Linked DNA regions of Homo sapiens: regions 2, 3, 4 and 5 are each linked to region 1. The links are contacts of gene promoters, found by promoter capture Hi-C in human tissues and cell types (Jung and others, 2019). All regions are on one chromosome and are shown on one strand. The core of a region is centred on a gene start or on the middle of the fragment in contact, and the rest is flanking DNA. Distances in the headings are between cores, read along the strand shown.

Evidence for each region. Contacts are between HindIII fragments. The study calls those that stand out against the background at their distance.
Region 2: the fragment with the promoter of TNFSF14 here is called in contact with the fragment with the promoter of DENND1C in region 1 in 4 of the 25 tissues and cell types used here (adrenal gland, lymphoblastoid cells, mesenchymal stem cells and 1 more).
Region 3: a fragment that was not itself captured here is called in contact with the fragment with the promoter of DENND1C in region 1 in 1 of the 25 tissues and cell types used here (spleen).
Region 4: a contact is called between a fragment that was not itself captured here and the fragment with the promoter of DENND1C in region 1, in 8 of the 25 tissues and cell types used here (dorsolateral prefrontal cortex, heart left ventricle, heart right ventricle and 5 more).
Region 5: the fragment with the promoter of ACER1 here is called in contact with the fragment with the promoter of DENND1C in region 1 in 1 of the 25 tissues and cell types used here (lymphoblastoid cells).

What each region holds. Positions count from the first base shown.
Region 1 is chr19:6,479,535-6,483,414 of GRCh38, forward strand. DENND1C (DENN domain containing 1C) reads right to left here and starts at 2,253. Exons shown (of 23, transcript NM_024898.4): 1 at 2,145-2,253; 2 at 453-517; 3 at 325-368; 4 at 135-184. The coding sequence starts at 2,161. RefSeq lists enhancers at 348-847, 2,444-2,738. The HindIII fragment of the contact is 27,793 bases long and covers 1-3,880 here.
Region 2 is chr19:6,667,971-6,671,850 of GRCh38, forward strand. It overlaps TNFSF14 (TNF superfamily member 14), which reads right to left and starts at 2,190. Exons shown (of 4, transcript NM_001376887.1): 1 at 1,881-2,190. The coding sequence starts at 2,099. RefSeq lists enhancers at 710-799, 860-1,049, 1,950-2,039, 2,420-2,649 and a silencer at 3,220-3,319. The HindIII fragment of the contact is 26,746 bases long and covers 1-3,880 here.
Region 3 is chr19:6,645,196-6,649,075 of GRCh38, forward strand. No RefSeq gene overlaps it. Among named protein-coding and RNA genes, the nearest start is that of TNFSF14, 23 kb to the right of the region's middle. The HindIII fragment of the contact is 4,731 bases long and covers 1-3,880 here.
Region 4 is chr19:6,622,302-6,626,181 of GRCh38, forward strand. No RefSeq gene overlaps it. Among named protein-coding and RNA genes, the nearest start is that of CD70, 33 kb to the left of the region's middle. The HindIII fragment of the contact is 5,411 bases long and covers 1-3,880 here.
Region 5 is chr19:6,331,426-6,335,305 of GRCh38, forward strand. It overlaps ACER1 (alkaline ceramidase 1), which reads right to left and starts at 2,187. Exons shown (of 6, transcript NM_133492.3): 1 at 2,034-2,187. The coding sequence starts at 2,126. The HindIII fragment of the contact is 13,348 bases long and covers 1-3,880 here.

The DNA of each region.
Region 1 (3,880 bases), core at 1,003-3,502:
AGTGTCTGAGTCTCTGAGTCTCAGGGTCCTCGAGTGTATGGGTTTCCAGATGTCTGAGTCTCTAGGTGTTGAGTCCTTGGGGCCCCTGAGAGATCTGAGTCCCTGAGTCCTTGGATCTCCCCGCCCTTCCGTACCTTTCCACATCAAAAGGGAAGCAGAATTTAGGCACCATCTGCATAGCTTCCTGGAGGTGAAGAAAAGCGCAGACTGCTTGGCCACTGAGGTCGGGCACCACCTCCCTGGGCTCCAGGTCCAAGAAACCAAGTCCCCTCCCCCTGGGAGACTGGCCCTCGCCCTGGGGGAGCAAGGAGCCAGCCTGAATACCTGGTCCCTGAAGTCTGGAGGGAACTGCCGCAGGATGGGGGGATCTGTAGAAGAGAGCACGCCTCTAAGTTCAGCGACCCAGGCCCACCCTCCCCTCCCACTCCCTCACTCCCAGGCTCCCAACTCACCCTCCTGCAGGGAGGCAGGGCAGGCCGCTTCGAAGAACCAATCAAACACAGCAGGGGAGCCCCCTCTGTGGGATGCAGAAGGGGTCCAGAGACTTGCTTCTATGCATGTGTGGTTGTGTCTGCCACTTTGCACACAAGTGTGGTTGTGTGTGCATGTGCCACAAGGTGCGTCGGCATGTGCATGACTCTGGGGGTTTGTGGCTGTGAGTGTGTGGTTGTGTGAGGCTGTGTGTGCAGCAGTGTTAATTGAACACACAAGTACAGGATGGAGTGAGAAAGTGTGACTGTGTGTGTGTGGCTGTGTATGATTGTGTGTGGCTGAGTGCATGGCTTTTGTGAGCAGGCAGTGTGTGTGTGATCCTGTCTGCTGTCTGCCTGAAAAGATGAGACTGTCTCCTATATCTGTGGCATGAGACTGCACAGATATGAAGGACAGCCCGTGCAGTCCCAAGCTAAGTGAATTACATCTCTCTCTCTCTATATATATATCCATCTATCTGTCTGTCTGTCTGTCTCTGTCTATCCATCCATCCATCCATCCACCCACCCACCCACCTATCCATCCACCCACCCACCTATCTATCTATCTATCTATCTATCTATCTATCTATCTATCTATCTATCTATCTATTTTTTTGAGATGGAGTTTTGCTTTGTCACCCAGGCTGGAGTACAGTGGCACGATCTTGGCTCACTGCAACCTCCACCCCACAGGTTCAAGCGATTCTCCTGCCTCAGCCTCCCTGTAGCTGGGATTACAGGTGCCCGCCACCACGCCCAGCTAATTTTCATATTTTTAGTAGAGACAGGGTTTCACATACTGGCCAGGCTGTTCTCAAACTCCTGACCTCAGGTGATCTGCCCGCCTCAGCCTCCCAAATTGCTGGGATTACAGGCTTGAGTCACTGCATCTAGCCATGCCATCTATATTTTCTTGTATAGATGTGAGTGTGTGTGCCCGAGCAAGTGAATGACATCTATATTTTCCTGTACAGCTGTGAGTGTCACTGGGTAACCGCGTGGGATCCTTGTGGGCTGGCTGTGTGTCTCTGTGTGTGAGACCCCATAGAACCCTCGTGGCTGGTCCCACATGTCTCATCAGAGAAAGGAGGGCAGGATACCTAGGTACTTACTGTAAGCCCTGCAATCTCTGCTTTCCTCCTCTGCCCCCATATCAAGCAGAAGAGGCAGCCTTGGGCTCAAGGAGAGAGACAGGGAGATCTAGAGGGAGATCAGCTGCACACACACTGTCCCGCCCAGTTGCACACACAGTCCCCACCATGGGTACCCCAGCACTTCACCCTCACGCCGACACAAGTCACACACGATCACCCACTCATACCAACACCCAGCCTCCCCTCTGCCCTGATCATCCGCCCTGTGGACCCCCTGAAGCCATCACTCAGACATACCAAGGACAAAGCTCAGAGGGGTACATGCATTCACAGAGCTATAGACATAATCACAGGAGCTGGATAGAGAGAGAGAGAGAGAGAGAGAGGAGGGGACCGAGAGTGGCCTGTCCCAGAGTGAAGGTCATAGCGGAGGCCCATGGAGTATCTGATTCCAGCCACCTGCCCTGGCAGGTCACTGCACCTCCCGGGCCTGCTCCAGCCCCAGCTCCCCTCTGCCCCGGCTCAGGCCTGGCCCGGGAATCTTGTACCAGAGAATGAGGGATGGGGTGGCTCTTACTCAGCTCTGGATTCCATGGTCCCTGCAGGGCCAGCCCAGCGGGGCCCTCTCCCCAGGGGTCCTGGGGGCCTGTGTATGCTGGGCCCCAAGCCGGCTCAGCTTCCTGTGTGGCTGAGAGAGGAAGTTTAACGGGTGACGTCCCCGGACAGAGGCCCTGCCCCCACCCCCGTGAGAAACCCAGGCATCCTGCCTGCTAATTATGTTGGGGATGGGTGGGCAATAAGTGGTCAGCCTGGGAAGGCAGACCCCCAGCTCCGTCCCCGCCAGGCTGGACTGTGTCTGGTTCCCCCCATCGTGCCTGGGCCCTCATCTCTCCTTCCCCGCTCCGCAGCAGCCAAGATTCACAGTCTGTCTATTAATGAAATGCCTCCCCGTCTCTTTCCCTTGGTCCATTTGGCCTGGACGGTCACTGGTGGACCACCAGAGGGAGCCACCTGTAAAGTGGACGGTGGGGGGGCCAGGGATGGGGACAAAGAGCACGAAGTACAGGCACAGGGACGGACAGACAGACACAGACACAGACAGTTACACGCTCAGGAAGTCATCAGCACAGACAAACCGAGTGCAGAAGAGCCAGAGACGACAGACATGGAGAGATAGGGAGTCCTACAGCTGGATCATAGTCCCAGGCCGGGCACAGTGGCTCACGCCTATAATCCCAGCACTTTGAGAGGCCAAGGTGGGAGGACCGCTTGAGCCCAGGAGTTCGAGACCAGCCTGGGAAACATGGCGAAACCCTGTGTCTATAAAAGCTACAAAAATTATAGCTGGCGGTGGTGGCACGCACCTATAGTCCCAGCTTACCCAGGAGGCTGAGTCAGGAGGATCGCCTGAGCCTGGGGAGTTTGAGGCCATAGTGAACCAAGATTGCACTACTGTACTCCAGCCTGAGCAACAAAGTGAGATCCTGTCTCAAAAAAAAAAAAAAACAACTTAGTCACAGTTACACACCCATTGTGCGCAGAAAGACAAGGTAAGCGGATCACTTGAGGTCAGGAGTTTGCAACCAGCCTGGCCAACATGGTGAAACCCTGTCTCTAATTAAAAAAAAATACAGGCCAGGTGCGGTGGCTCACATCTGTAATCCCAGCACTTTGGGAGGCTGAGGCAGGTGGATCACGAGGTCAGGAGTTCGAGACCAGCCTGGCCAAGATGGTGAAACCCAGTCTCTACTAAAAATACAAAGATTAGCCAGGCACGGTGGTGGGCATCTGTAATCCCAGTTACTCAGGAGGCTGAGGCAGAATTATTTGAACCTGGGAGGCGGAGTTTGCAGTGAGCCGATATCGCGCCGCTGTACTCTAGCCTGGGCGACAGAGCAGGACTCTGTCTCAAAAAATCAAAAACAAACAAACAAACAAAAAATTAGCTGGGCATGGTGGCATGTGCCTGTAATCCCAGCTGCTTGGGAGGCTGAAGCAGGAGAATCACTTGAATCCGGGAGGCAGAGGTTGCAGTGAGCCGAGATCGTGCCACTGCACTCCAGCCTGGGTGAAAGAGTGAGACTCCATCTCAAAAACAAAAACAAAAACAAAGCAAACAAACAAACAAACAAATGCAGAGACAGACAGAGACACAATAAACAGTTACACAGAGACCACAGCCATTGATACAAACAGAATAACAGAGAAATAGACCCAGATAGATGGAAACACAGCACAGACATAGCTCAAGTAATAACCAGATATAGTTATAGCCAAGACCCGGCCACATGCAGAGAGAGACACAGCTGGACT
Region 2 (3,880 bases), core at 940-3,439, 190 kb after region 1:
GTTGCAGTGGGCCCAGATTGTGCCACTGCACTCTAGCCTAGGTGACAGAGTGAGATTCTATCTCAAAAAATAAATAAATAAATAAAAGGGTTTAATAAATAAATAACATTGCCCAGAGCAGTGGCTTACACCTGTAATCCCAGCACTTTGGGAGGCCAAAGTGGGAGGACAGCTTGAGGCCAGGAGTTTAAGACCAGCCTGGGCAACACAACAAGACCTCATCTCTACAAAAAATTTTTAAGATTAGCCAGGCATGGTGGTGCATGCCTGTAGTCCCAGCTACTCATGAAGCTGGGACAGGAGGCTTGCTTGAGCCCAGGAGTTCAAGGCTGCAGTGAGCTATGATCGTGCCACTCCACTCTAGCCTGGGAAGCAGAGTGAGACACAGTCTCTAAGATAAATAAATATGTAATTAATTAAATAAATAAGTAATATTTAAAAATACAGGGACAAGGCCAGGCGTGGTGGCTCACACCTGTAATCCCAGCACTTTGGGAGGCTGAGGCAGGTGGATCACTTGAGGTCAGGAGTTCGAGACAAGTCTGGCCAACATGGTGAAACCCCGTCTGTACTAAAAATACACAAATTAGCCAGGCACGGTGGCGGATGCCTGTGATCCCAGCTACTGCTCAGGAGGCTGAGACAAGGGAATCACTTGAACCTGGGAGGTGGGGTTGTAGTGAGCCAAGACTGCACCACTACACTACAGCCTGGGCTATGGGAGAGAAACCTTGTCTCAAAAAAAAAAAAATGCAGACAGCGAGATGGCTGGACACATGGACACCACCCTTGGGATATAGCACCTGCCACAGGGCACAGACCTCAACATCATCATGACGCTGAGAAGACACATGTGGGCTCAGATGCGTGGACATGTGGTTTGTGGTTTATGGATCCATGTGCGTCTACAGACACAGAGACCCAGAGACAAAGACAGACAACGTGAATACACCGGCTGCAGCTAGGCGGGTGTGTGGACATGTGGGTACACGCACATACGTCCACATGGGTATATGGACACGAATGTGTGGCCACCGGATCCAGACCCAGGACACAAAAGGGGCCAAGCCCACAGGGGTATGGTGTTGGGCACACATAGACCCCCAGGTGAGGCACACAGACAGGCGGACACATCCACAGCCAGCTGGAAGCAGACCGAGAAATTTCCACAGATGGAAATGGTCAGAGAATTAATGACAATCGCAGTAACAGTAATAAGAGTACCAGAGAAGGCCAGGCGCAGTGGCTCACACCTGTAATCCCAGCACTTTGGGAGGCTGAGGCGGGTGGATCTCCTGAGGTCGGGAGTTTGAGACCAGCCTGACAAACATAGAGAAGCCCCATCTCTACTAAAAATACAAAATTGGCCAGGCGTGGTGGCGCATGCCTGTAATCCCAGCTACTCGGGAGGCTGAGGCAGGAGAATCACTTGAACCCGGGAGGCAGAGGTTGCGGTGAGCAGAGATCATGCCATTGCACTCCAGCCTGGGCAACGAGAGTGAAACTCCGTCTCAAAAATAAAAAAGTACAGAGAAAATGCATGCGTGTGTGCACAGGGGTGTGCATGGCAGTGTTGGGGTGTCAGTTCCGACGGGTGGAGCTGGCATCGTCTGGTACTACACATGCCATAGCATACTTCGTCCCCTATGAAGAGACTGCCCTTATTTTGTAGATGAAGACACTGAGGTTCAGAGAGGTGAATTCACTTGCCCAAGGCTGGGAGCAGCAACCAGTCAAGCCAGCTGCTCTCAGCCTGTGCCCTGTCCTACACACACACACACACACACACACACACACACACACAGACACACAGTGACCCACAATGACACAGGGGAGCCCCCCTCACCTCCACCTGCTCTCAGCCCCCCGGTCCCACTCACAGGCAGGCGGGTGACCATCTCTCCTAGACGCCAGTGCAGCTGCAGGAGGAACCAGCCTTGGACGGCCAGCCCGGCCCCCATCAGCAACAGCAAGAGACCCAGACCCACCCGGGCCACACTGCACGACTGTCTCCGGTGGCTTCGTCCCAGCCTCGTGAATGGGATGTCGGTCTGTCCATCCACCACAAACACTGAGGGCCGTACGACACTCTCCTCCATGCCCAAGGTGTCTGGAGCAGGGCTGACACGCCTGGGTCCTTCAACCTCAGAGGAAACCGAAATTGCTCAACACTCCTGGGCTGTGCACGCTGCGGACAGGCACCCGTGGGCCGCCTTTAGAGCTGGGGTTCAGCCCCACCCCTTCCCCCACTCACCCTCCTCTTCTTCCGGTACCCGCCGCCCCCGGTCTTGGCCCTGTCTCACTCTCACTCATACAGACTCTCACACTTTCCAGAGGCTTCTGAAAATGTGACTCAGGTGGCAAGTGCAGTGGGGAGCCCCCAGCTTTCCCTTCTTGGATGCTTCATTCGCTTGGGGCCACCAAATATCGACTGAGGACTTTCTGCCCATGCCAGGCTCTGCTCTCGGTGTGGGGGATGCAGCAATGAACAACAGCAAGAAGGGTCCCTGCTCCTCTTCTGGTGGAGCCAGAGAGACAAGAAACCTCGTAAACAAGAAAATAATACGTTGTGGGTTTTTTTGTTCGTTTATTTGTTTTGTTTTTGAGATGGAGTCTCGCTCTGTTGCCCAGGCTGGAGTGCAGTGGCGCGATCTCAGCTTACTACAACCTCCACCTCCTGGGTTCAAGCAATTCTCCTGCCTCAGCCTCCCAAGTAGCGGGGATTACAGGCGCGTGCCACCACGCCTGGCTGCTTTTTGTATTTTTAGTAGAGATGGGTTTTCACCATGTCGGTCAGGCTGGTCTCGAACTCCTGACCTCAAGCGATCCACCCACCTCAGCCTCCCAAAGTGCTGGGATTACAAACGTGAGCCGCACCATGCCCGGCCTTCTGTTGTGTTTTGATGTGACAAGTGCAGTGAAAAACACAAGAGTGGAATAAAGGAGTGGATGTGTGCTCTGTGTGTGTGCTTGTCTGCATGCATATATGTGTGCAGTGTGTGCATGTGAATGTGTGTATTCAGTTGTGTGCATGCAAGTGTGTATCATGTACACATGTGCAGGCGCATGCCTGTGTATCATACATGTGCTGGCATGTAAATGTGCGTGCATATGTGGGCAGGTGCATGCATATGTGTATGGTCATCTGTGTGCATGTGCATGTGGTCCATGTACATGCATGCATGTGCACGTGTGTGTATGTGTGAACATGCATCACATGTGCAAGTGGGTGTGCATATATGTGCTGTGTGCAGGTGTGTGCATGTGTGTGTGCCTGTGCATTGGTGCGTGTATGTGTGTGTGCGCACTTGCACGGGTGTGTTCATGTGTGTGGGGAGGTCCATGTATGAGTGTGCATGCATTCAAGCGTGGATTTTTTTTTTTTTCGAGACGGAGTCTCGCTCTGTCGCCCAGGCTGGAGTGCAGTGGTGCGATCTCGGCTCACTGCAAGCTCCGCCTCCCAGGTTCACGCCATTCTCCTGCCTCAGCCTCCTGAGTAGCTGGGACTACAGGCGCCCACCACCGCACCCAGCTAATTTTTTGTATTTTTAGTAGAGACGGGGTTTCACCGTGTTAGCCAGGATGGTCTCAATCTCCTGACCTCGTGATCCGCCTGCCTTGGCCTCCCAAAGTGCTGGGATTACAGGCATAAGCCACCGCACCCAGCCTTTTTCTTTCTTTTTTTTTTTGAGGCAGAGTCTCACTTTGTCACCCAGGCTGGAGTGCAGTGGTGCCATTTTGGCTCACTGCAACCTCTGCCTCCCGGATTCAAGCAATTTTCCTGCCTCAGCCTCCTGAGTAGCTGGGATTACAGGCGCCCACCACCATGCATAGCTAATTTTTGTATTATATGTTGGCCATTATATATGTTGTAACATAT
Region 3 (3,880 bases), core at 445-2,944, 170 kb after region 1:
GTATGGGTAGGAACTAATACAGGGTGTATTAGTGCACAGGTGTCTGCTATGGGCTATCCCATTGGGGACTTTGGGGTGACTGTGTAGACTATGCCTTGGAGTTGTCCCACCCTGGGGACAGGGAAGCCGGGTATTTATCCACTAAATCCCATCCATCATTGGTTAAATGCTGCTCCTTGTGGTGTTAATGATGGAAACTCTCTATTGCCTATAACTGACACCACAATTCTTTACACTGGCATTTACAATTTCCCCTTGCCCTGCCTCATTTTCCTCTGTGACCCCTGCCATGGTCACCCTCCACTGCAGCCTTAGACTAGCGATGGCCCTGAATTTCCTCCCTGTTCACTGAGATCTTCCTGATCCTCATCCAGCCTTCCATGGCCTCAGACCACTGAGCTCTCTCCCGTTGCAGAAATCCTGCAGAACATTTTTCCTGGACCCCTTACTGGGTGTAGGGGACCCCAGAATAACTCATGTCCAGGCTCCTTTTTTTGAGGATCCTCTGGGATGGGTGGAGGAGTCACAGCTGGACAAGATGCTTTTAGTTCTATGTGGTCAGGGCTGGAAGAATGGAGCCCCAGGGATGGAGCCCAGGAATGGAGGAGATGGGATGTGGGTGAGATTCAGAAAAAGCTTTATGGAGGAAGGCTGAGCTTATCTTTTTGTCTCCTTACCCCAAAACCTCCCTCCCAACTTTGATGCTGGAGCCTGCTGTTCCTTCTCTGATCAGAATCCTCTCTCTTCATGTCTCACCCCTGTCCTAACAGGGGTGCTATGAATCCACTCTTCTGGCCCCCACCATTAGATCACTGATGTGATCTAACCACATCAGTCTCCTGCTGAAAGACCTCCAATGTTTGAGATATATATATATATATATATATGAAACTTAATGGTTCCATTTCTCTGGAGAATCCTGACTAATACAGATTTTGGTACCAAGAGTTGTTCTAAACTGGGTGTGATGGCTCATGCTGGAAATCTCAGCATTCTGGGAGGCTGAGGCAGGAGGATCGCTTGAGGCCAGGAGTTCAAACCAGCCTAGGCAACACAGTGAGACCTCATCTCCAAAAAAATTTTTTTAATTAGCCAGGTGTGGCTGGGTGCGGTGGCTCATGTCTGTAATCACAGCACTTTGGGAGGCCGAGGTGGGCGGATGAAGAGGTCAAGAGATCGAGACCATCCTGGCCAACATCATGAAACCCCATCTCTACTAAAAATACAAAAATTAGCTGGGCATGGTGGCACGTGCCTGTAGTCCCAGCTACTCGGGAGGCTGAGAAGGGAGAATCACTTGAACCTAGGAGGTGGAGGTTGCAGTGAGCCGAGATAATGCCACTGCACTCCAACCTGGCAACAGAGCAAGACTCCATCTCACAAAAAAAAAAAAAAAAAAAAAAAAAAAAAAAATTAGCCAGGTGTGGAAGCGTGTACCTGTAGTTCTAGCTGTTTGGAAGGCTGAGATGGGAGAATCCCTTAAGCCAAAGAGTTTGAGGCTGCAGTGAGCGATGATTATGCCATTGCAATCCAGCCTGGGTCACAGAGTGAGACCCCAACTCAAAAAAAAAAAAAAAAAGTGGTTCTAGAGGAAGAATGAGCTTTCTGAATTGCTTCTCGTTCTTCTGAAATTGGCTCTCTAATCTGATTAAACTGAAAGAGGCTAATGACTCTTTACAGTAGTAAGAGAGCACTGGTGGTCCATGGCATGATCTGGCAATAGAGAGATGCAGATATCACCACTGTATACTCCTAATTAACTATCTATAAGAAGCAAAGATCTTGTCACTGTGTATTTGATACTTCTGAGAAGTTTTGAAAATCGAATGAATATAATGAGATTGGCTGGCTCCTCCTAATGTCACTGGATAGAGTGCTGAGAGAAGAGGATGAACTTAGGGATTTGAATTCCCAGCTCAAGCACTGCATAAGTAACCTGACATCTTCTATGTGTGCCCTAAAGGACATCCTTGTCTCCTGTAGCCTCAGGGCTGAGAGTGGTGAAAAGCAAACACAGAATCTTATTCTGTGATTGGCCGGATTTCAGGGCAAGTTGGACTCCCAGCTTCCAAGGATGTCTACTGATAAACTGAGGGCATTGATTAGTATCAATGGTATCCTGTAAGAATAGTATCCTGGAAACTGGAATTGGGATATGTGGGAAGACAAGGATGAAGTTGAGGACATGGAGCACCTAAATTCTGAGTCTTGTTTGCCGCTGGAAAGGCCTCTACCTTCCCCTCCTTGGTTCTGTTTCTCTGGAGAACCCTGACTAACATGACTGGCTTGAATCTGGATCCAAATGTAATCCCAGCACTTTGGGAGGCTGGCATGGTGGCTCACATCTGCAATCCCAGCACTTTGGGAGGTGAAGGAGAGCGGGTCACTTGAGCCCAGGAGTTCAAGACCAGCCTGGGCAACATAGCGAAACCCCGTCTCTACAGAAAATACAAAAATAAGCTGGGTGTGGTGGCGCATGCCTGTAATCCCAGCTACTTGGAAGGCTGAGGCAGGAGAATCACTTGAGGCAACATGGTTTTATACATACGTGAAGGAGATACACCTTCTACCCCTTGGAGATACCTTCAAAATATTCAAGGGGGCATGTGAAATGGGATGATATCTGAAACAATATCAAATTTAGAAAGAGGGTAGTTGATAAAGTCAGCAAGGCAGGACATTGAAACTATTGAATTTAAGTGATGGATTTATGGGTATTTCTTAGACTATTGTCCTCTCCTTTTGGAAGGAGAGGAAAGTTTGCACACTGGATTTGTTGGATGCATTTCCTACTAAAAAAAAATCAATAAATATTTTCCCTTTACACTCTCTACGCCTACTGCTGTTTTTTCTTAAGCTATTGGATACACTAGGTTGCTTGTCCTGTAGATTTTTCCAGTGTGATTTCACCCTTGCAGTGTCATTGCACGTATTCTTCTATCCCCTAACCCTGTAAACCAGAGCTTGGCAAATATTTTCTATAAAGGGCCCAATACTAAATACTTTTGGCTCTGTGAGTTATGCAGTCCCTGTCACGGCAACTTAATCCTTCCATTTAAGTGCAAAAGCTGTCATAGACAGTATACAAATAGACGGGAGTCACTGTAGACCAATAAAAATCTTTATGGATGCTGGAATTTTAATTGCATATACTTTTTGTGTTATAAAATATTATTCTTCTTTTGACTTAAAAATGTGAAACTATTCTTAACTTGTGAGCTGTACAAAAATTGGAGGTGGGGCAGGATTGTGTCCACGGGCCAGTTTGCTGACCCCTGCTGTAAGCTGGTAATCTGAACATAAGACTTGATCAGAGTCGGGTTCAATTCTGGGAGACAGAGGGAGATTTAAATACCCTGTAAGGGAGATTAAAACGCCCTGTGGGTGAAGCTAGACTCTGGGGAATTGGTTTTATTAAGGAAATGTCATTTCGTTGAACGTGATCATGGCGGCATGGTTTTATACGTACATGGAGGAGATATACCTTTTATCCCTTGGAGATACATTCAAAATATTCAAGGGGGGATGTGAAATGGGATGATATCTGAAATAATATCAAATTTAGAAAGAGGGTAGTTGATAAAGTCAGCGTGGCAGGACATTGAAACTATTGAAATGAAGTGATGAATTTATGGGAGTTTCTTAGACAATTTTCCTCTTTTTTGTGCATGTTCATAAATTGCCCTAATAATTTATTTATTTTTTTGAGACAGGGTTTCACCCCTGTTGCCCAGGCTGGAGGGCAGTGGCACAACCTTGGCTCACTGCAACCTCCGCCCCTGCCAGGCTTAAGCGATTCTCCTGCCTCAGCCTCCCGAGTAGCTGGGACTGCATGTGCATGCCACCACACCCAGCTTATTTTTGTATTTTTTGTAGAGAC
Region 4 (3,880 bases), core at 681-3,180, 140 kb after region 1:
CAAGATTCAACATCAATGTAGACAATTCAGTGTGTTTCTACACACTGACAACAATCTATCTGAAAAAATAATCAATAAAGCAATCCCATTTAAAATAGAATAAAAAATGCTCAGGAATTAATTTATCCAAGGAAGTAAAAGATCCGTTTACAAAAAAAAAATTGATCAAAGAAATTGTAGAAGACACAAATGAATGAAAAGATATCCCATGTTCATGGATTGAAGGAATTAATATTGTTAAAATGTCCATGCTACACAAAGTGATCCACAGATTCTATGCAAATCCCTATCAAAATTTCAGGGGTATTTTTCATAGAAATAGAAACAAAATTCTAAAATTTAACCACAAAAGACTTTGAATAATAAACACAATTCAGCAAGAAAAACAAAGCTGAAGGCATCAGTTCTGGATTTCAAACTATATTACAAATCTATAGTAATCAAGACAGTATGTTACTGGAATGACAGCAGACACACAGACCAATGGAACAGAATAAAAAGTCCAGAAGTAAACTCACACATGTACAGTCAATGAATTTCAGACAAAAGTGCTGAGAACACACAATGGGAAAAGGAGAGCTCTTTGATAAATGATGCTGGGAAAAATAGATATCCACATGCAGAAGAATGAAATTAGACCCTCATCTTGTTACTGAAACACCAGGGATATGGTCTAGGTCTGCTGCTTGCCACACAGAAAGCCAATGGCTGAGGTGATGAGTATTGCCAGGGAAGAAGGCTTTAATTGGGTGCTGCAGCTGAGGAGGTGGGAGATCAGTCTTGAATCCATCCCCTTGACTGACTAAAATTAGGGGTTTATGTAGCTGGGAAGAAATGTAATGATGTGTGGGAAAATGGGAACTTGGGAGGCATAAGGAAGTAATCGTGATGAATGAGGGGTCTGGATGTGATGATCTGGTGAGTTTCAGTTCTTTGATATTTTTTGAGATGCCTGGGTTGGGGTGGGGAGGTTCCTTCTTGAAGAAGAAGAAATTCAGATAAAACAAACATAAGTTTCAAGGTTTAAGACTGGAAGTGTCCATTTCTATTTATCAAAAACAAAACAGTCTATGGGACTATTGGGTCAGTTTCAGTCCCCTCTATTTATCAATTTTTTTAATCATGGGGAATCTGACCATTGATCTTTCTGGCTGCTTCATGCTGAGGAGGTGACCATGTGGCCACCTTCTGAAACACAATCATTCTCTGTCCAGCCACCACTGCCCCCACCAAAGACAAGTCAAAGCAGGATGAACCTACCTGCAAAATAAGCTTCAGTCCATGGCTGGGCATGGTGGCTTCTGCCTGTAATCCCAGCAGTTTGGGAGGCCAAGGCAGGTGGATCACTTGAGGCCAGGAGTTGGAGACCCAGGAGATGGAGGTTGCAGTGAGCCAGTCTGGGTGACAGAGTGAGACTCTGTCTAAAAAATAAAAAATAAAAAAGCTTTGGTCCCATATACTTGGCCTGATTACCCCCAAAAAGTGCAGCAAAAATCATTGTCCACATAGATCCTTCTAAATTGGCCTTGCTGGAACCTCACACTGTTCCATTATAAAAGAAAATAGGTTCTTACTCAAATTATGCCAAGAAACACATTGACATATCAGAATTTTAGGAATCTCATACAATCCTAGAACATATATTAACAACTCATCTATATAAATATAACCCTAAGGGCCAGGCGTGGTGGCTCACGCCTGTAATCCCAGCACTCTGGGAGGCCGAGGCAGGCGGATCACGAGGTCAGGAGTTTGAGACCAGCCTGGCCAGTATGGTGAAACCCTGTCTCTACTAAAAATACAAAAATTAGCCGGGCATGGTGGCACGTGCCTGTAATCTCAGCTACTTGGGAGGGTGAGGCAGAAGAATTGCTTGAACCTGGGAGGCAGAGGTTGCAGTGAGCCAAGATTGAGCCACTGTACTCCAGTCTGGGCGACAGAGTGAGACTCCATCTCAAAAATAAAATATAACCCGAAGGAAGCTAAACACCACCTTGGATCTGACAATGTTTCCTGCATGATTCTAAAATAACAAATTAACCTAAGATATCTCTCTTGGACTTGAGGGAACCTAATATCCAAAAAAGTTAGTTTGAGGTCAAAAAGACTGAATTTAGACCTTTAAATTGTGCTCCTAGAAATTTTGCCAATTACAAAAATTTTAAAACACTTGATATCACAAAACATGATCACAGGTCACAATAAAATAGTCATTTATGGCCGGGTGCAGTGGCTCACACCTGTAATCCCAGCACTTTGGGAGGCCAAGGCAGGCAGATCATCTGAGGTCAGGTGTTCAAGACCAGCCTGGCCAACATTGTAAAACCGCGTCTCTACTAAAAATACAAAAATTAGCCAGGTGTGGTGGCACGTGCCTGTTAATCCCAGCTACTTGAGAGGCTGAGGCAGGAGAACTGCTTGAACCTGGAGGCAGAGGTTGCAGTGAGCTGAGATTGGGCCACTGCACTCCAGCCTGGGCGACAAGAATGAAATTCTGTCCCAAAAAAAAAAAAAAAGAAAAAAAGGAAAACACAAGTCATTTATTTAGCCAAAATGATAAAACAAAAATATTTACCTTTTAATAGGAGATACAGTTTCTCAAACAATAAGACAGCATGAGACCAAACAAATCTGTCCCTCTCCAATCCATTTTTTCCCTCCAGTTTACTTAAACAAAACTATTTTCTCTCTTATTAATATTATACAAATTTTGTTCAAAAGAGAAAACCCAAATTTTACCTTTATATGGTGTATTTATTAATGTTAAAGATAATTTTAATAAAACTTTATCAATAAATCTATCTAATTTTCATTGGTTTGACCATAGGGTAAGATTTTGATAAACTTTTTATAAGCTTTCATGATTTTCTATTAAAAAGAACAGATCAATGCTCCACAAAAACCCTTACTCCTGACACATGGGCTCAGACCCTCACCTTGCATCAGTGTGCTTTTGATATTAACGTTTAATTTATAAGAAAAACTCTGAACTAATTTTATCCCTCAAAATTGGCCCTTATAATCTCACACACCCACCTCATCCGTGATAGTTCCTGGGCCTAGAGGGATTGAATAGTTTTGGTTTTTTTTCTTTTTTTTTTTTTGAGACAGAGTCTCGCTCTGTTGCCAGGCTAGAATGCAGTGGCACAATATTGGCTCATTGCAACCTCTGCCTCCCCAGTTCAAGCGATTCTCCTACCTCAGCCTCCTGAATAGCTGGGACTACAGGCACCCGCCACCACTCCTGGCTAATTTTTGTATTTTTAGTAGAGACGAGATTTAACCATGTTGGCCAGGATGGTCTCGATCTCTTGCCCTCGTGATCCACCCACCTCAGCCTCCCAAAGTGCTGGGATTACGGGTGTGAGCCACCGCACCTGGCTGAATAGTTTTAATTTCTAGCCCTGTGTCTCATGAAAACAGTTCATTTTGATTGTCATTTTTCCCTGGATCTGAAGACAAGACTTCCACTGGTTTTGATGTTCAAGACTTAGCAGGGGTCAGTGCCTTTTTCAGACCCAGGAGTCAAAGTTGTGAAACTTAACAGCACAAGGATTAGTTAATAGGGTATTTATACTACCAAAAGGCCTGTCATTCTAACATGCCACACATTGAAACGCTGTGATTTGGTGTCTAGGAGTTACTGCTTGCAGCACTTCAAACCACTGTATTAAAGTAATCAGGTTACTCATTGCATATGTCCAATTGCTAGCATTCTAGTGACAGAACTGTGACCAAAAGCATAAAAAATGTGGTAGGTGCTAAGTCAAACTTATCAAAGTAAGACAACTACCTTTTTCCCCATCATTAAAAAAAAAAATAGTAAATGCAGGCCACGCATGGTGGCTCATGCCTGTATTCCCAGCACTTTGGGAGGCTG
Region 5 (3,880 bases), core at 937-3,436, 150 kb before region 1:
GGCGTGAGCCATAGCACCCAGCCAGCAAGCACTCTTCTGCTCACTGAGCAAGGCCTATGTGCAGGGCATAGAACTAAGCACTACGAGGCCGGGCGCCGTGGCTCACGCCTGTAATCCCAGCACTTTGGGAGGCTGAGGTGGGCGGATCACCTGAGGTCGGGAGTTCAAGACCAGCCTGGCCAACATGGTGAAACCCTGTCTCTACTAAAAATACAAAAATTAGCCAGGCGTGGTGGTGGGAACCTGTTATCCCAACTACTCGGGAAGCTGAGGCAGCAGAATGGCTTGAACGCGGGAGGCAGAGGTTGCAGTGAGCCGAGATCGCGCCATTACATTCCAGCCTAGGTGACAAAGCGAGACTCCGTTTCAAAACAAACAAACAAACAAACAAAAGAACTAAGCACTATGCCTGGATCCCATCATTCCCAGGGCTCCAGGCAAACACCTCTGTGTTCCCAGCACCCAGTATGGGCATGGCATAGCTGCACTGATCTTTGGCTTTAAGCTTTGGCTAAATGCCGTGATCATTTGTGCATTCCTATTTTTTTTTTTTTTTTTGAGACGAAGTCTCGCTCTTGTCCCTCAGGCTGGAGTGCAATGGTGCGATCTCGGCTCATTGAAACCTCCGCCTCCTGGGTTCAAGCCATTCTCTTGCCTCAGCCTCCCAAGCAGCTGGGATTACAGGTGCCTGCCACCAAACCTGGCTAATTTTTGTATTTTTAGTAGAGATGGGGTTTCACCATGTTGGCCAGGCTGGTCTCGAACTCCTGACCTCAGGTGATCCACTCACCTTGGCCTCGCAAAGTGCTGTGATTACAGGCGTGAGCCTCCGCGCCCGGCCTTTTTTTTTTTTTTTTTTTTTTGAGACAGGGTCTCCCTCTGTCACCCAGGCTGGAGTGCAGTGGTATGACCTCAGCTCACTGCATCCTCCACTTCTTGGGTTCAAGAAATCCTCCCCCCTCAGCCTCCCAAGTAGCTGGAACTACAAGCACACACCACCACACCCAGCTAATTTTTAAAAACTTTTTGTAGAGACAGGGTCTTGCTATGTTGCCCAGGCTGGTCTGGAACTCCTGGGCTCAAGCGATCTTCCTGCCTCTGCGTTCCAAATTGCTGGGGTTACAGGCATGAGCCATGGTGCTAGGTACATCCATGATTTTTTAGCACTTCCCATGTGGTGTTTTAACAGGGAAAGAGAAGACCACCTCAGAATGTCCAGAACTGAGGAGTTTCTCAGGAGGTGGGACTTTTTTTCTTCTTTTTTTGAGACAGTCTCGCTTTTTCACCCAGGCTGGAGTGCAGTGGCACAATCTCAGCTCACTGCAACCTCCGCCTCCTGGGTTCAAGCGATTCTCATGCCGTAGCCTCCTGAGTAGCTTGGACTACAGATGCCTGACACCGTACCCAGCTAATTTTTTATTTTAGTAGAGATGGGCTTTCACCACGTTGCCCAGGGCGATCTCCAACTCCTGAGCTCAGGCAATCCACCCACCTTGGCCTTCCAAAGTGCTAGGATTACAGACGTGAGCCACCGCGCCCAGCCAAGAGGTGAAACTTTTTAAATACTGAAACCAGGATAGTCCCAGGCACACTGGGACAAGTTGGTCAGTGGGTACAGCTGCAAACAAGACAGACACAATCACCTCTTCCAGGAAGCCTTTCCTGATTGGCCCACCCCCTCTAGCTCAGGGGCACCCTCTGCCTCCCCCTACCACAGCTGCCTCTGTGCCCTCCAAGAAGGCACCATCGCTCCCGGTTGCAAATGCCTGCAGTCACATCAGAGTTAGCTTAGGGAAGGCAGAGACCGGTTCTTTTCCTGGCCACCAATGTGTCTCCAAAACCTACCACAGAGCTTGGCATCAAGTAAAGACAAGTAAATGAATGAAAGCTGGCACTCTTTGGCTAACAGATGAGAAAACTAGGGCTGAGACAGGTGAACCACTCCAGCAAGATTCCCCAGTAAGGCTGTATGGGGAGGAACCGGGATTCGAACCGGCATCTGGCGAGACTCCTTCACACACCCACGCACTCACCGTGTTGTAGAACTCGGCCACCAGCTCCGAGTACTGGAAGTTGCTCTCACACCAGTCCACCTCGGAGCTCTGATAGGCGAAGATGCTAGGCATCTTGTCTCAGTGGCCACCACCAGCCGGCTGCGCCCGGCAGAGAGAAGGCGAGCTTGGGAAGGCTGGGCCCTGATGAGGCGGGGAGAGGACAGCCCGGTGCCCCGCGGCAGGCAGACTGGGAGGAAAAACCTGCTGGGCCGCTCCCCAGTTGCACCAGGGCAGCCTGGCTGTGCAGTGACAGCAGCCCTGAGCATAAGCCGTGGGACTGGCACTGTCCAGGCAGGGCAGGGGGCAGAAGTAGGCAGGGAAGAGGCCTCCCATCCAGATTACCCAGGAATAGGAATCGGGGTGGGGGCAGTGGAGGGAACTGTTTTTATCTTTTATGTATGTATGTATTTATTTATTAGAGTCAGGGCCTTGCTCTGTTGCTCAGGCTGGGGTACAGTGGCATCATCATAGCTCACCGCAGCCTCAAACTCCCAGGCTCAAGCAATACTCCTGCCTCAGCCTCTGAAGTAGCCAGGACCACAGGCACATGCTGCCACCATGCCTAGCTAATTGTTTTTTTTTTTGGAGACAGAGTCGCTCTGTTGCCCAGGCTGGAGTGCAGTGGCATGATCTCAGCTCACTGCAAGCTCTGCCTCCCGTGTTCACGCCATTCTCCCGCCTCAGCCTCCCGAGTAGCTGGGACTACAGGCGCCCACCGCCACGACCGGCTAATTTTTTGTATTTTTAATAGAGATGGAGTTTCACTGTGTTAGCCAGGATGGTCTCGATCTCCTGACCTCGTGATCCACCTGCCTTGGCCTCCCAAAGTGCTGGGATTATAGGTGTGCGTGAGCCACCGTGCCCGGCCTTTTTTTTTAAAATTGAGATGCAGTCTGGCTCTGTCACCCAGGCTGGAGTGTAGTGGCGCAATGTCAGCTCACTGCAACCTCCACCTCCTGGGTTCAAGCGATTCTCCTACCTCAGCCTCCCAAGTAGCTGGGATGACTGGCACCTGCCACCATGCCCAGCTAATTTTTTTTGTATTTTAGTAGAGATAGGATTTCACCATGTTGGTCAAGCTGGTCTCGAACTCCTGACCTCAGGTGATCTGCCCACCTTGGCCTCCCAAGGTGCCGGGATTATACGCATGAGCCACCTCACCTGGCCTGAGTTCCTCTACTTTAAGCTGTGTGACCTTGGGCAAGTGAATTTACCTCTCTGATCCTCTGTTTGCTCACCTGTCATATGGAGACGATGGTGACAGAGCCAACTGTAACAAAGGAAGACAGAGATAAAGCATGTACAAAGGCTTAGCCCACTGCCTATGCTAGAGTAGGCACTTGATGGATGGTAATGGGTTTTCTTTTTTTTTTTGAGATGGAGTCTTGCTCTGTCCCAAAGTGCTGGGATTACAGGGTTTTCTTACTGAAGCTGACCTTGAACTTTAAGTCAACTTTGTGGGAATAATAATAATTATTATTATTATAATAAAAGAGCCTGGCCTTAGCAAGCGGTTAGCAAGTGTGCATAACAATAATAATATAATTATTTATTATATAATAGCAATATTATATTAAAATATAAAATTATTATATTAAAAATACTATTGTTATATAATATTTTAAATATTTTAGTATATTATTTTAATGTGATTAATATAATTTAATATAATAATTAATATTATATATTATATAATTTTTCTTTTTTTAAGTGCTTGATTTTCAGTATTATCTCATTTAACGTTCTTTTTTTTTTTTTTTTTTGAGATGGAGCCTCACTCTGTCTCCCAGGCTGGAGTGCAGTGGCATGATCTTGGCTCACTGCAA